Linked DNA regions of Homo sapiens: region 1 is linked to region 2. Evidence: promoter capture Hi-C in 16 types of primary human blood cells and fetal thymus (Javierre and others, 2016). All regions are on one chromosome and are shown on one strand. Each heading gives the region's core, a stretch centred on a gene start or on the middle of the fragment in contact. The rest is flanking DNA. Distances are from core to core; before and after follow the strand shown.

What was found. The method cuts DNA at HindIII sites, captures the fragments that hold promoters and counts their contacts. A CHiCAGO score of 5 or more calls a contact.
Region 1: a fragment that was not itself captured here is called in contact with the fragment with the promoter of HSD11B2 in region 2 in 1 of 17 cell types (M1 macrophages); the score reaches 5.2 in M1 macrophages.

What each region holds. Positions count from the first base shown.
Region 1 is chr16:67,364,213-67,370,952 of GRCh38, forward strand. It overlaps LRRC36 (leucine rich repeat containing 36), which reads left to right. Exons shown (of 14, transcript NM_018296.6): 7 at 1,092-1,143; 8 at 2,805-3,245; 9 at 6,732-6,740. Among named protein-coding and RNA genes, the nearest start is that of TPPP3, 26 kb to the right of the region's middle. The HindIII fragment of the contact is 947 bases long and covers 3,234-4,180 here.
Region 2 is chr16:67,428,749-67,435,488 of GRCh38, forward strand. It overlaps HSD11B2 (hydroxysteroid 11-beta dehydrogenase 2), which reads left to right and starts at 2,373. Exons shown (of 5, transcript NM_000196.4): 1 at 2,373-2,765. The coding sequence starts at 2,501. RefSeq lists enhancers at 1-336, 6,738-6,740 and silencers at 2,042-2,091, 2,312-2,491. The HindIII fragment of the contact is 16,145 bases long and covers 1-6,740 here.

The DNA.
Region 1 (6,740 bases), core at 2,457-4,956, 63 kb before region 2:
GAGATCATGCAAGATGGGGGAGGAGTGAAAAATAAGGTTTTAGTGAAAAAATTGGTGACAGAAGGGATGCAACCATTATGTAAGACTTGTTTGTGTGAGTGAATATGATACAAGGAGCAGAACTGACTACTTTATATTCACCTTCTCCCTTTCTGTGCCTTTTCTTTGATACATTTATGAGCAATAAAATTGTAGAAAATAGCCAGGAGGAGAAAGAAAAGCAGCAAAGGCTCTGATTAATCCATAATTTGGACAATCAAGACTGAATTAGTAAAAAGTTAGTACTATTCTTTTCAGTTTGGGTATAGACTACCTTCATCTTTTAAAAAGATAAGCATTTAATCAGTTTCTTTGTTTTTGGAGATTATACTTGGGTGACTTAGAAACAATCTCAGTTACCATTTTTTAAAACCATATTGACTTAAGGAAATGGAGACAAAGAGTATTGCAATCTCCAGTTAAATAGCACTTCTTAGATAAAAAAGCAAACAAAAAAACTTCTCTGAAATTACTTCTTGAAGTGAGAAAAAAGGAAATTGAATAGTTTGCTGTATCTTTTTAGTTTAAGAAATAAGGAAGTGGGATTTCTTTCTCTCCATGACTACCAAAAAGACACTGAATACTTTAAGATAATTTTTTTAAAAGCAAACCCTAGATGGCTTTCTGTTTTCCTTCAGTCCTTGCCTAGTTATGCCTCAGATTAATTTTCAGCCTATTAAAACCCCCTTAGCTATGGTGGTTGATAGCTTTATCAGCTGGTAAAATAAGCATGAGAGTCCTTTAAACAGAAAAAGCAAAGCTGGAAAGTGGCCCTCATCTACCTTCTATGAGCTATCTAAGGCAGAGAAAGTACAGTCATTGTTTGCTATGTCCTTTACTTCCTAAGGATATTCAAGCAACTCTGGAATCTCCTTGTATTGTGACTGTTTTAAAATAGACTTAAACTGGACCTTTGCTTAAAGGTCTGTTTCCCTAGCTTGCAAGGATAGTCTTTCCCATTAATAGGAAGGTATTCTGAACCCCTAGTCTAATAAGCTCACATTTGAACGCGCATGGACTTCCTTCTACCTAAACTTTCGAACTTTTTTTAGACACAGGAAGTAGCAAGAAGGGAGATGCCAAGTGACAATCACCAGGAAGATGGTAAATATTTTGCTCACTGAGTATTTTTCCCCCACACTAATCAGAGAAGTCTGGATGTGATGGGATTTGGGAGATGAAGATGTCTCAATATGGGGGCCCTATTTAGTCAACTAATTTCTGCTTTTGTGAGGGACTGTCCTGGATGATTAGTAACCTGTGAGACTTTTCTGCTTAAAGAGTGCATATTCTGACCTCCTTTGTTCTTGATTTTTTTTGCGTTGGATGACTATTCTTTTTGTTACCTTTCTTGCCTTCTTTTGTATTTATTATTTTTTATTCATCCATTTGTTTCTCTCTACTGGTTTATAAGTTATATACATTTTCTATACTTTTAGTATTATTCCCCAAATGATAATATGTATCCTTAACTTACATAATTTTTAAATTGTTAATACCTTAAGTCTTCTTTTGGATAATTCAAAAACCGTACAGTACTTTATTTCATTTACTCTTTCCTGACTTATATGTTGTTATTATGAATTTTAATTCTCTATATTTTTAAAGACTTCACAAGATATTATTTTTTATATAGTCAGTGTAGATTTAAATCTATCCATTAATTTACTACTGTTTGTTCACTTCCTTTTTCTTCCCAGGCTTCCCTTCTGATATCATTTTCCTTTGCCTTACAGTGGCACATACTTTAATGTAGGTCTATTAGTGATGAGCTCTTTCAGCTTTTCTTTGTGTGATAATGCCTCTATTTCACTATCATTCTTGAAGGGTATTTTAGATGGGTGTAGATTTCTAGGCAGTTCGTTCTCTCTCTCTCTTCCCACTTCCTTCTCTCTTTTTTTTTAATTTTTTTTATTTTTGAGACAAGTTCTCAATCTGTTGCCCAGGCTGGAGTACAGTACAGTGGCACAATCAGAGCTCATAATAACCTCAAACTTCTGGGCTCAAGCAATCCTCCCACCTCAGCCTCCCAAGTAGTTAGGACTACCACCACACCTGGCTAATTAAAAAAATTTTTTTCGGACCAGGCACAGTGGCTCATGCCTGTAATCCCAGCATTTTGGGAGTCCGAGGCAGGTGGATCACCTGAGGTCAGGAGTTTGAGACCAGCATGGCCAACATGGTGAAACTCCATCTCTACAAAAAATACAAAAATTAGCCGGGCATGGTGGTGCTTGCCTATAATCTCAGCACTTTGGGAGGCCGAGGCGGGTGGATCACTTGAGGTCAGGAGTTGGAGACCAGCCTGGCCAACACGGTGAAACCCCATCTCTACTAAAAATACAAAAGCTAGCTGGGCATGGTGGCATGTGCCTGTAATCCCAGTTATTCGGGAGGCTGAGGTACGAGAATCGCTTCCCTCTGGGAAGCGAAGGTTGCACTGAGCTGAGATTGCGCCACTGCACTCCAGCCTGGGCGACAGAGTGAGACCCTGTCTCAAAAAAAAAAAAGAAACAGAATTTGTCTCCAGAATGTTATAGATTCTTTACTGTTTACACAAAAGTCCCACATTTTATTGGTGGTGGTGGTGTTCCATGTGGAAGTCCTTTCATCACTTTATGCTACCATTGATCAGAATTATAAACCACCTCTTCCTGAGAGGTGTTTCTGGCAGACAGAGAATATGTTCAGTGAACAGAGGTACTCCCAGCTAGGCCACAAAGAATTCTTATCATGTTTTGTTTTTTTGCCTTGGTGGTGTTTAGAGTTCAGACACTACTCGCCTCGTCAGTCCACAGTCCGATCCCCAGAGAAGATGACTAGAGAAGGGTACCAAGTATCTTTTTTGGACAATAAGTCTTCAGGTTCTTCTCCAGAAAAGGAATTGATACCAAAACCTGATACTTTTCATCTTACCCATGATGCCTCATTGAGTAAATGCCTGGATGTGGGTGATTCTAGCCAGATCCATCCCTATCAGTTACCTTCAGATGTTGGTCTGGAAAATTATGACAGTTGTTATTCTCAAACTCTATCCCTGCATGGAAGTCTTGGTAAAAGGCCTCAGAGAAGCAAGAACTATCAAGAGTATAGCATAAAGCCTTCAAATGACATAAAGACCACCGCTTCACATTCCTGTGGAGACTTATTAACTTCTCTGTCAAACCCTGACTCCAGCACTGGAAGGCTTTTGAAGCTTAGTTCAGGTAACAGCTTCCTGTCAGTTTACAGGTCTTCTTCATAGGCATGAAGATAGAAGATATAAGTGAAAATTTTGGAATTAACCCTTCTGAAATTGTATTAGCATTTCTTAAGTTGTATTTTAGGGTCACCAGTGGTTCTTGGAACCTCGAGAAATCTGTAGGGTATGAGTTTAACATGATATATATATTAGGGAAAATTTGTAGGAAAGTGAGCATTGCAGCTACTTGCTATTTTAGTTAAGCAGCATCCCAGGACATCTAGTCTTTACTCACAGTCACTTCTATTCTGACTTACTTTCAGAAGAAGTTAGTTTCAGGCTGGGCACGGTGGCTCATGCCTGTAATCCCAGCACTTTGGGAGGCTGAGCCGGGTGGATCACGAGGTCAGGAGTTCGACACCAGCCTGGCCAACATGGTGAAACCCCGTCTCTACCAAAAATACACACACACAAAATAGCTGAGCATGGTGGCATGCGCCTGTAATCCCAGCTACTCAGGAGGCTGAGAGGCAGGAGAATTGCTTGAACCTGGGAGGCAGAGGTTGCAGTAAGCCAAGATCGGGCCACTGCACTCCATGGGCAACAGAGCAAGACTCCATCTTGAAAACAAAAACAGAAGTTAGTTTCAGAGTTAGTGACAGAGATCACTCTTCTGTTACTTATTTATTCAACCAAACTCATTGAACACCTACAGTGTCCCAGACACTGTTCTAGCTCTGGAGATAAAGTAGCAACCAAAATAAAGTTCCATGTATATTTTACCATAATAAGAAGACAGTCCCTACTTTCATAGAGCTTACATTCTCATGGGGTAAGACACATGATAAACATTTTAGCATGCAAATATATGTCAGGTTATGGTAAATGCTGTGAAAAAATTATATAAGGGCATAGAGCGTGATAAGGAGGAGGCGATGCTTTAGATAGAATGGTCCAGAAAGCTTCTCTGATGAGGCACCATAAAAGTAGAGACTTGAATGAAGTGGGAGTATAAGCCATGTGGGTCTGGGAGGAGAACTTTCTAGACAGTGGGAATAAATGCAAAAGTCCTGAGGCTGGAACATACTTTTCATGTACAAGGAACCTCAGGGAGGCCAGTGCGGCCTCAGCAAAGAAAGTAGAGTGTATAGATGAAGTAAGAAAGATGCCAGACTTTTTTCTGGGTGAGATCAGAAGGAGTTGGAGAGTTTGTAGCAAGGGAGTGATGTGATCTCACTTAAGAATTACTGTGAATGTTGGGCTGAGAATAGACTATGGGGAGGAGGGTAGAAATTTTTTTAAAATGCTTTGGAGAGATTGGAATCAGCGTAACAGATGATGATGGCTTGGGCTAGACAGATAGCGGTGGAGGTGGTGAGAAGTAGTCAGATTCTGAATATGTTCTGAAGATGACACTCCATGGTTTGCTGATGGATCCAGGATAAAGTGTGGGAGAAAGAGGGTCAATGGTAATTCTGTGGTTTTGAGTCTGAATAACTAGAAGAACAGAGCTTTCATTTACTAAGATGGAAAAGAATGGGAGGTAGAGATTTTAAGATAAATATCAAGAGTTGGGTTTTGGACATCTTAAGTTTCAGGTGCCTTATTAAAACTTTCCAGAGATGCCAATTTGGTAATTGGACATACTAGTCCAGAGTTTAGGGAAGAAGGTATGGCTGGAAATATAAATTTGGAGATTATAAGTGTATGGGTGACAGTAAAACTCTGAGACTGGATGAAATCTCACCAAAAGAGTGAATATAGATAGAAAAGAGATCTGAGGACTGGTCCTGAGCCCTCCAACAATTAGAAGTAGATAAAGAGAAACCATCATGGAGAGTGAGAAAGCAGCAGCCAGTAAGATAGAGGGGAAAAAGCCAAGAGGAAGTAATATCCTGGAAGCCAAGTGAAGAATGTGTTTCAAGAAGGAGGGAGTGATCAATGCTAGGTCAAATGCTTCTCCTGATAGGGAGGGAGGGAGCCTGGGACTGAGAAGTGATTATGGTATTTGGCAATGAAGAAGACATTAATGAACAGCTTCAGGGGATGCATGAGAATGAAAGCCTCACTGAGGTGAATTCAAGAAAAAAATTGGAAGCAAGGCAGTAAAGTTACTGAATATAGACAACCCTTGTATTAGTCTGTTCTCACACTGCTAATAAAGACATACCCAAGACAGGGTAATTTATAAAGGAAAGAGGTTTAATTGACTCACAGTTCCACATGGCTGGGGAGGCCTCACAATCATGGTGGAAGGTGAATGAGGAGCAAAGTCACGTCTTACATGGTGGCAGGCAAGAGAGCTTGTGTAGGGGAACTCCCCTTTATAAAACCATCAGATCTCGTGAGACTTACTATCACCAAGAACAGCATGGGAAAGACCCGCCCCCATAATTCAGTTACTTCCCACCAGGTCCCTCCCATGTCATGTGGGAATTATGGGAGCTACAATTCAAGATGAGATTTGGGTGGGGACACAGCCAACCCATATCAACCCCTTCAAGGAGTTTTGCAGTAAAGGGAAGCAGAGAAATGGAACTAGCTGGAGAAGGGATGGGGTCAAGGAGATCCTGGTAGAAGTGATCTAGTAGAGGGAAAACTGATGATGCCAGGGAGAAAAGGGACCGTTACAAGAAAATGGAATCCAGTCCACCAGTGGAGAGGCTGGTTTTAAATAAAAGCACAGATAGTTCATCTATTGTAATAAGAAGGAAGGCAGAGAATTTATTAATACAGATACAGGAGAGTTGGTAGATTTGATGGTGTGATCATGTAGATGTTTTCTTTGATTGCCTCTCAGGGAAATAAAGGAGGTTGGCACCTGGGTGTAAGGAGGGAAGAGAAGGTGTTGGAAGTTTGAAGAGAGATGTGAAATATTTGTCTCAGAGAATAGAAGAGTAAATTGGCCAGAGTATTATATTAGGAGATGCCGGGCACAGTGGCTCACACCTGTAATCCCAGCACTTTGGGAGGCCAAGGCCAGCAGATCACTTGTGGCCAGGAGTTCAAGACCAGCATGGCCAATATGGTGAAACCCCATCTCTACTAAAAATACAAAAATTAGCTGGGCATGGTGGGTAGACCCAGCTACTCGGGAGGCTGGGGCAGGAGAATATCTTGAACTCAGGAGGCAGAGGTTGCAGTGAGCCGAGATTGTGCCACTGCACTCCACCCTGGGCAATCGAGCGAGACTCTCTCAAAAAAAAAAAAAAAAAAAAAATCAGAAGAACTGGGCACCACTAAGGGCGCAGTTACAATAGTGGTCATGAGTTTAAAGTGAGAAAGGTCAGAACAGATGCGTTTTTTTCTCCAGCTATGTTCCCCTGCTCTGGTGTAGGCTTGGAACATGTGGACGGTTAGATTTAACCAGAGTTGGAGTTTTGTCAGAGAGTTGAGGATGTATGCTAGGGAGTGGTTATTATGACCCTTGGACTACAGGCAAGGTATGGATAGAAGTGAGACATGAGGCAGTCAGAGGGCAGGTTCATCTGTTAGCCTGTTTCCTCCACAGATCTGTATG
Region 2 (6,740 bases), core at 1,123-3,622:
TAATAAGGGATAAGGGGTCAGTGGTTGAGGAGGCCACAGGAGCTGGAGCATAGGTCCTGGGAAGGAGGAGGCTTGGACTAGGAAGTGGGATGAATGGGCAGGGGGAGTTTATATAAAAATGTGGCAGATGGTCCAGTCCCACCAAGACCCAAATCCCATAAGACTAATGGCTCTGCCTGAGGTGGCACGAGGTTCCAGAAGCTGAGCTGGAAACACCCCCTTCCTCATCCTAACCATGTTATACTCTTCAGCCAAACGCAAATCCCAACATCGCCTCCTGGCAAGTCTGTCCCCATGGTGGCCTTCACGGTTCCTTCCCAGGACAGTGTAGGACCCTGCTTCTGCCTCTTTCCTTATCTTGCCTTCCTGCCCCATCCCCCTACTCTTCAACTCCTGCTTTAGCAAGTGCTGGTTCTATCTGTGTTGCCTTGACCTTGAAGGCTCCCCAGGACCCTCATCTCAGCTTCTACTCCCTTCCTCACTCCAAGGGGAAGACTCCAATGGACTGAGGCTGGAGAAACCACAGCCAGACTCTTGGTGTGGTGGCTAAAGCTGGGGGGTCTGGCCAATCCAATCTCTACAGCTCAAATCAGGAAGTCAGGCCAGGGGTGCTGTGTCTGCCTCCAAGCCTGGGCCATACATTCACCGCAACAGGAATCAGTGACTTTGGAAAAGGAATGTTTCCCTGAGTTTCTAGAGGCAGGATGACCCAGACCGAAGGACAGAGAGTTACCAGAAACACACACAATGCACACAAATGTACTCACTTGCACACACAGGGTCATGGCATAGGGAGTGACACAACCAAATGGCCTGGACAAGCCACAGAGTCCCATGGACACAAGTGCTTACAAACACAGGCACACAAGGTCATGTACCCAAGGTCAGGCACACACACCCTCCTCATTCAAGTCCTGCCTCCCAGGTCTGGGGCTTGCCTGTCATCTGTCCTTAGGAGGAGGGATAGGTGGAGGCACAGGAGTGGCTCAGGGCAAATTGGTCCTCCACCCAGAGACTCTCCCTTTAGGTGGGTCTGGCTCCCAGCCTCCCCTGAGATTTCCCTGGCTCACCAGGGGGCTGTGTCTGGTGGCAGAGAGGGCTTTGGAGGAGGCATTGCCCTGAAACCCTGGCAGAGCCTGGGCACCTAAGAGAGAATGAGCAACAGGGCTAGGAAGTGTGACAGGGAGTCCACAACCTCCCAGGATCTTGGGAGGGCAGGGATGAGGCACTGAGCACGGCCTGGAAGCCCACGGGAAGCAGGGACCCCTCTGTCGAGGGCTACACCTACTGCTCTCAGCATCAAGCCTGCAGCCAGGTACTGGCACCAACTCCCAGTGCCTGGCAGAGCCCTGGCATGGATGCTAGGCACAGGGTGCCAGACACGGGGGTGGGCAGGGTGGGGGGCCACTGGGCCACACACAAGCATGGAGACCTTCACACACGCAGGCAGAAAAATCCACCCACACTCATACCACTTATTTTACCCCCTGGGGGTTCAGGGGAGCAAGGCAGGGACCACCCTGTCCTAGAGGCTGCCTTCACCGACGTCCCTCTGGCCTGGCTCTTGGGGTTGGCGGGGGTGGGCCATAAGTAATGGGAGACCTAGGTGCTTCCTCTGACACCCCACCCTCCACTGACCCCCACACACATACATTTGTGAGGCAGGAAGTGGGGTTGTGCGTCCCCAGGTTTAAGCCCTGGAAGGAAAGGGAAAGACGGGGCAGAGACTCCAAGAACCGGGAGCGGTCGTCCTGTTCCCCCGCCAGCCCCTGTCCCAGGCAGGTTTTGTGGCCGCGAGCTGCTCAGGGGTGAGCGCGCCTTAGGGTGTGTGCGCCAGGGACCTGGCGCAGCCGACCACGTGGGAGTGCGGCGCGTGTACGGGCGCGGGCGGCAGCGGCAGCGGCAGCGGAGACCGGGTGAGCACCGGCTGGTTCCTCGCGGTGTTCCTGCAGGCTTGGCGGCCGCGGTGGTGCGATCAGCAAAGGGCACCGGGATGCCGGTTGTGCGTGTCCTCAGGTGTCCCGAACAAGCGTGAGTGGCATGTGCTCACCTGAGCGCGGCGGCTTGGCGGCCCCGGGCGTGTGGGTGGGGGCGCGGCGGAGAGCTGAGGCCGGGCACCCGGGCTGGACCGACGGGCCCTCTCCCAAGCACCGCCCGCAGCCAGGCGGCTCCTCGAGCGCAGCAACTTTGGGACTTTGTTCCGGCTTTTTCCAAATCGAATCTGGTCGAGGGGGCGGGGCGGGGGGGGAGCACCTGCCCTGCGGGGGGTGCCGGGAGAGAAGTGAAGGAAAGCCCCGCCCCCGCCCCTCCCGCTCCCCGCCCTCTCCCCCGCCCCCGGGGCTCTTCATAAGCTCGGCCCGAGGGCGAGCAGAGAAAGCGAGTGTCCCTCTCGCGCCCCAGGCCGGTGTACCCCCGCACTCCGCGCCCCGGCCTAGAAGCTCTCTCTCCCCGCTCCCCGGCCCGGCCCCCGCCCCGCCCCGCCCCAGCCCGCTGGGCCGCCATGGAGCGCTGGCCTTGGCCGTCGGGCGGCGCCTGGCTGCTCGTGGCTGCCCGCGCGCTGCTGCAGCTGCTGCGCTCAGACCTGCGTCTGGGCCGCCCGCTGCTGGCGGCGCTGGCGCTGCTGGCCGCGCTCGACTGGCTGTGCCAGCGCCTGCTGCCCCCGCCGGCCGCACTCGCCGTGCTGGCCGCCGCCGGCTGGATCGCGTTGTCCCGCCTGGCGCGCCCGCAGCGCCTGCCGGTGGCCACTCGCGCGGTGCTCATCACCGGTGAGTGCGCGGGTCGCGGAGCGCGGGGACTCCAGGCTCGAGGGCGGGACTGGACACTCAACAGGACTGACTCCCCATGGGCACAGCCAAGGCGGGCTCCTCAGCGCAAGAGTGGGAGAGTTCTCCACCCCTGGGTGCAGGGAGCGAGCCAAATAGGGAGCGCCGGGCACCTCCCCAAGCCCGGGTTCACTACCTGCCGCTGCGGGGAGTGTTGGAGGGAAAGTGAGACAGGGAGTGGGCCGGTTCGAGAAGGAAACTGACTGGTGGCTGAGAAGAGGGAACCTCCTGGAGTTTGAGAGTTTATGCCATTCCCTTCCCCAAGAGAGCAGTCTCAGGGGACTTCGGAGGCCTTGAGAAGGGAGGATCGTTACCCCTTGAACTCTGCCTGACATCCCCACCTAAGATACCCATCTCCCATTCCTCGGGCCAGAGGGAAGAGCTTAGATGGGGAACTTCCCCACCCCACCCATCCCCCACTGGCTGGGATCCTTGGAGTTCAGAAAAGCTAGAGGTCACCGTGAGGGGCAGCTGGACATTCAGCTGTCTTTCTGTCTAGCCACCCACTGCCAAACTGCTGAGGCAGTAGTTTGGAGCCTACACCCAGCACCCCACCCCCAAGCCCTCCTGGTCCTCTGTGCCCAGGAAGGAGCTCTTAGAGAGCTGGGCTCAGGTGCCTCTGGCCGCCTAGCTGAGCTCCTTTGTCTGGAGCAGGGAATAAATCTGTCACCAGAGGGAGGGAAGGGGAAGGGGGGGGGGGGCTGGAGGCCCGCCGGAAGTGGGGAGGGGGAGAAAGGCCAGGGGGCACTGACTCCATTGCATCGTGGGAGGAGCAGCCTGGTCTCTCGCCAATACCCACGGCTTTGGACAGGTGCTCCAGGCTTTGTCCTTGCGCTGGGCCTTTGCTGGGGCAGCCAGCAACCTGGCTTCTCAGAGACCTCGGTCTAGTAGGGGCCCTGTGTGATCAGATGGGGCTGGGAGAATTTTCCGGAGGAGGAAATCCTTGAGTGGGGCCTTGGAGCATGAGTGGAGATAAGTGGAGTATGAAAGGGATCTCGGATCAGAGAAAGGATGTGGGACAAAGGCTTAAGGCAGGAGTACACACGGTCTCTGTAGGGGACAGCCAGTCTGGGTGTGGGGGTGGGGAGAAGGGGATATGAGGTGGTTTCCTTGGGAGGGGCCATGAATCAGGTAAGAAGCCAGACTGCTGAGGCAGAGTAGGGGGGAAGGAGGCACAAGGGCCTTGCACTCCAGCAAAGATGGTAGAGATGGGGAAGCATTCGGGCTGGACAGGAGAGACCCAGGTTCCAGGCGCAGTGTGAAGCCTCAGCAGACCCCAGTTTCAGAGGTTTGAGGAAGGAAAATCAACAGACACCCCGGGTATGAAGTAGGGGCCAGGTTGTGGGCTCTGCCTCTGGGGACAGGGCAGATCCCTTCCTGCTTTATTTGTGAGCCACCTCAACAGGACCCAGGCCATCTGCAGGTACTAGTGGCCTAGCTGGGTAGTCTTTCCTGAGGTCTCACCTCAGGCCTTTGTGCTGCTGCTGTTGCTTCTGGCCTTGAGCCTGAGAGAGAGGTGAGAGGAAGGATGCTTTCTCTAACTTGGGCTCCTCCAATCTCTGGTTGCAAAGCTGGGGTTGGGGGAGAGAGGACCACCCAACCTGCCCTGTACAAGCATCAGTAAGACTCCAAGTTTCCCAGGGCCCGAACACTTGGGGGTTGTCTCTCAACACCCGGCTGGAAGACAAGTAGGTAACCAGGTTCAGCCCCACCTGCCAAGAACACTGTGTTTTGGGCCTGGCAGAGCTGCTACTCCCCCTCTCCCTCCTAAGAATGCCCAGAGAATCACTTGCCAAGGCTACTCCTGGAGCTCAGCTGTGGGATCAGGGTTTGGGCTGAGGATCAGGTGCCTGTGTGCACACATGTGCACATGTGTGTGCCAATGGGTGGTAGGGATTGAGCCCGTTGTGAGAACATCCAGCCAGGTTGGAAGTGTGTACAGGTATCTGAGGGTGTGCACGTGAGCAAGAGGGTGTGCAAGATGTGGGTGACTGTTGGGACCACAGAGCTGAGGCCTGTGGTCAGCTCAGGTCAGAACTGGGAGGTCTGTTTCCCTTGGGAGGACCTGTCTGCTCTGAGGGGGACCCGGACAAGTGCACATATGCATGTGTGTGTCTACACACACACACACACACACACACACACACACACACACACATATGCTTGCCTCCCTCTCCAAGGCAGACTTGCCTGGGAAGTACCCCTCCTCAGCAGGAGCTCGAAGACCCCTGCCCAGTGCTGTTTTCAGTAGAGGGAGTGGAGCTGAGATGGGGAGACCGTACTGAGCGGTCCAGGAGTAGGGAAACAGAGCTGCTTTGCAGCTTCTGTTCCAGAAGATGGGGGTTGGGGGGCGGGGTTGAGGGCCAGGGGTGGGAGCAGGAGCAGAACAGAAAGCCTCCCTGCTCACTGGCCTTTCCCCTTCCCTCACTGGCTGCCCATGGAGCCAGGATCAGCATGGGAACAATCAAGGAGGCAGGGGCTTATCAGTACTATGGACCCCTACACTGGCTCTGCCTGGTGGTTCTTCTCTTCGCATACCAAAGACAGAAATTAAGCCTCCAAGAGTGGTAACTGACCTCGGTCACACTTGGTGGGTGTGGGAAAGGATTCAAATGTAGGTCTGTTCTCTTCTTCATCTATCATGGTCCCTGTCCTGGAGGCAAGTCGTCTGGGGCTCAGAAAACACCCCTGTTGCCACTGATTGGAATTCCAAGGGTCTGGGTGAAGTGGGGATGGGCCTCCAGCTTGCCTCCAGCCTGAAAAAATAGTAGAGGGTGTTGAGGCTGGGAAGGGAGGTGGGGCTCATGTTGTACAGGGCCTGAGCCAGGGAGCTTGGGCTTCATTCTGAGTACTGTGGCAGCCCTGGGAAGGTTTGTAGCACAGAGGGATATTGTCATTTTTGGAAAGATCCCTTTGGCTGCTTAGGTAGAGAAGGGCTTCAAGAGGGCAGGAAGGGACAGGACTACAGAAGGGGCTGCTTCAGAGTCCAGATTAAGGAAGGAGAGGCCTGGGCAGTCAGAAAGGAAGAGAAGCCGGATGTGGTGGCTTGTATCTTCAATCCCAGCACTTTGAGAGGCCAAGGTGGGAGGATCACTTGAGCCCAGGAGTTCAAAACCAGCTTGGGCAACATAGTGAGACTCCCATCTCTCCAAAAAAATTTAAAAACCAGCCAGGTAGACTGGGCGCAGTGGCTCACGCCTGTAATCCCAGAACTTTGGGAGGCCGAGGCAGGCAGATCACGAGGTCAAGAGTTAGAGACCAGCCTGACCAACATGGTGAAACCCCGTCTCTACTAAAAATACAAAACTTAGCCAGGCCTGTGGTGATGCGCACCTGTAGTCTCAGCTACTCAGGAGGCTGAGGCAGGAGAATCGCTTGAACCCGGGAGGCAGAGGTTGCACTGAGCTGAGATCACGCCACTGCACTCCAGCCTGGGCAACAGAGTGAGACTCCGTCTCAAACAAAAAAAAAAAAAAAGAAAAAACCAGCCAGGCGTGGTGACACAGGCCTGTAGTCCCAGCTACTCAGGAGACCGAGGAGGAAGGAATGCTTGGGCCCAGGAGGGGAGGTTGCAGTGAGCCAAGATCATGCCACTGCACTCCAGCCTGGGCAACAGAGCGAGACCCTGTCTCAAAAAAAAAAAAAAAAAAAAGAGAAAGGGAGGCTCCTACTAATACTGTGCCTGTGCCTGTGAGCTGTGGCCTGAAATCAAGAAAGCAGAACCACACTGGGGCCTGGGACTGTCCCAGACCTGACCTGTGTGAATTTGGGAAGCAACTTAGCATTACTAGGCCTTAGTTTCCTCTTCTGTAAGCCACATTAGTGGGGTAGCCACGGGGAGTCAGGCAGATGACAGCTGTCACAGAGTTACTGCCCAGGGCTCAGCTAGAGGGACACAGCCTGCCAGGGATGGGCCTA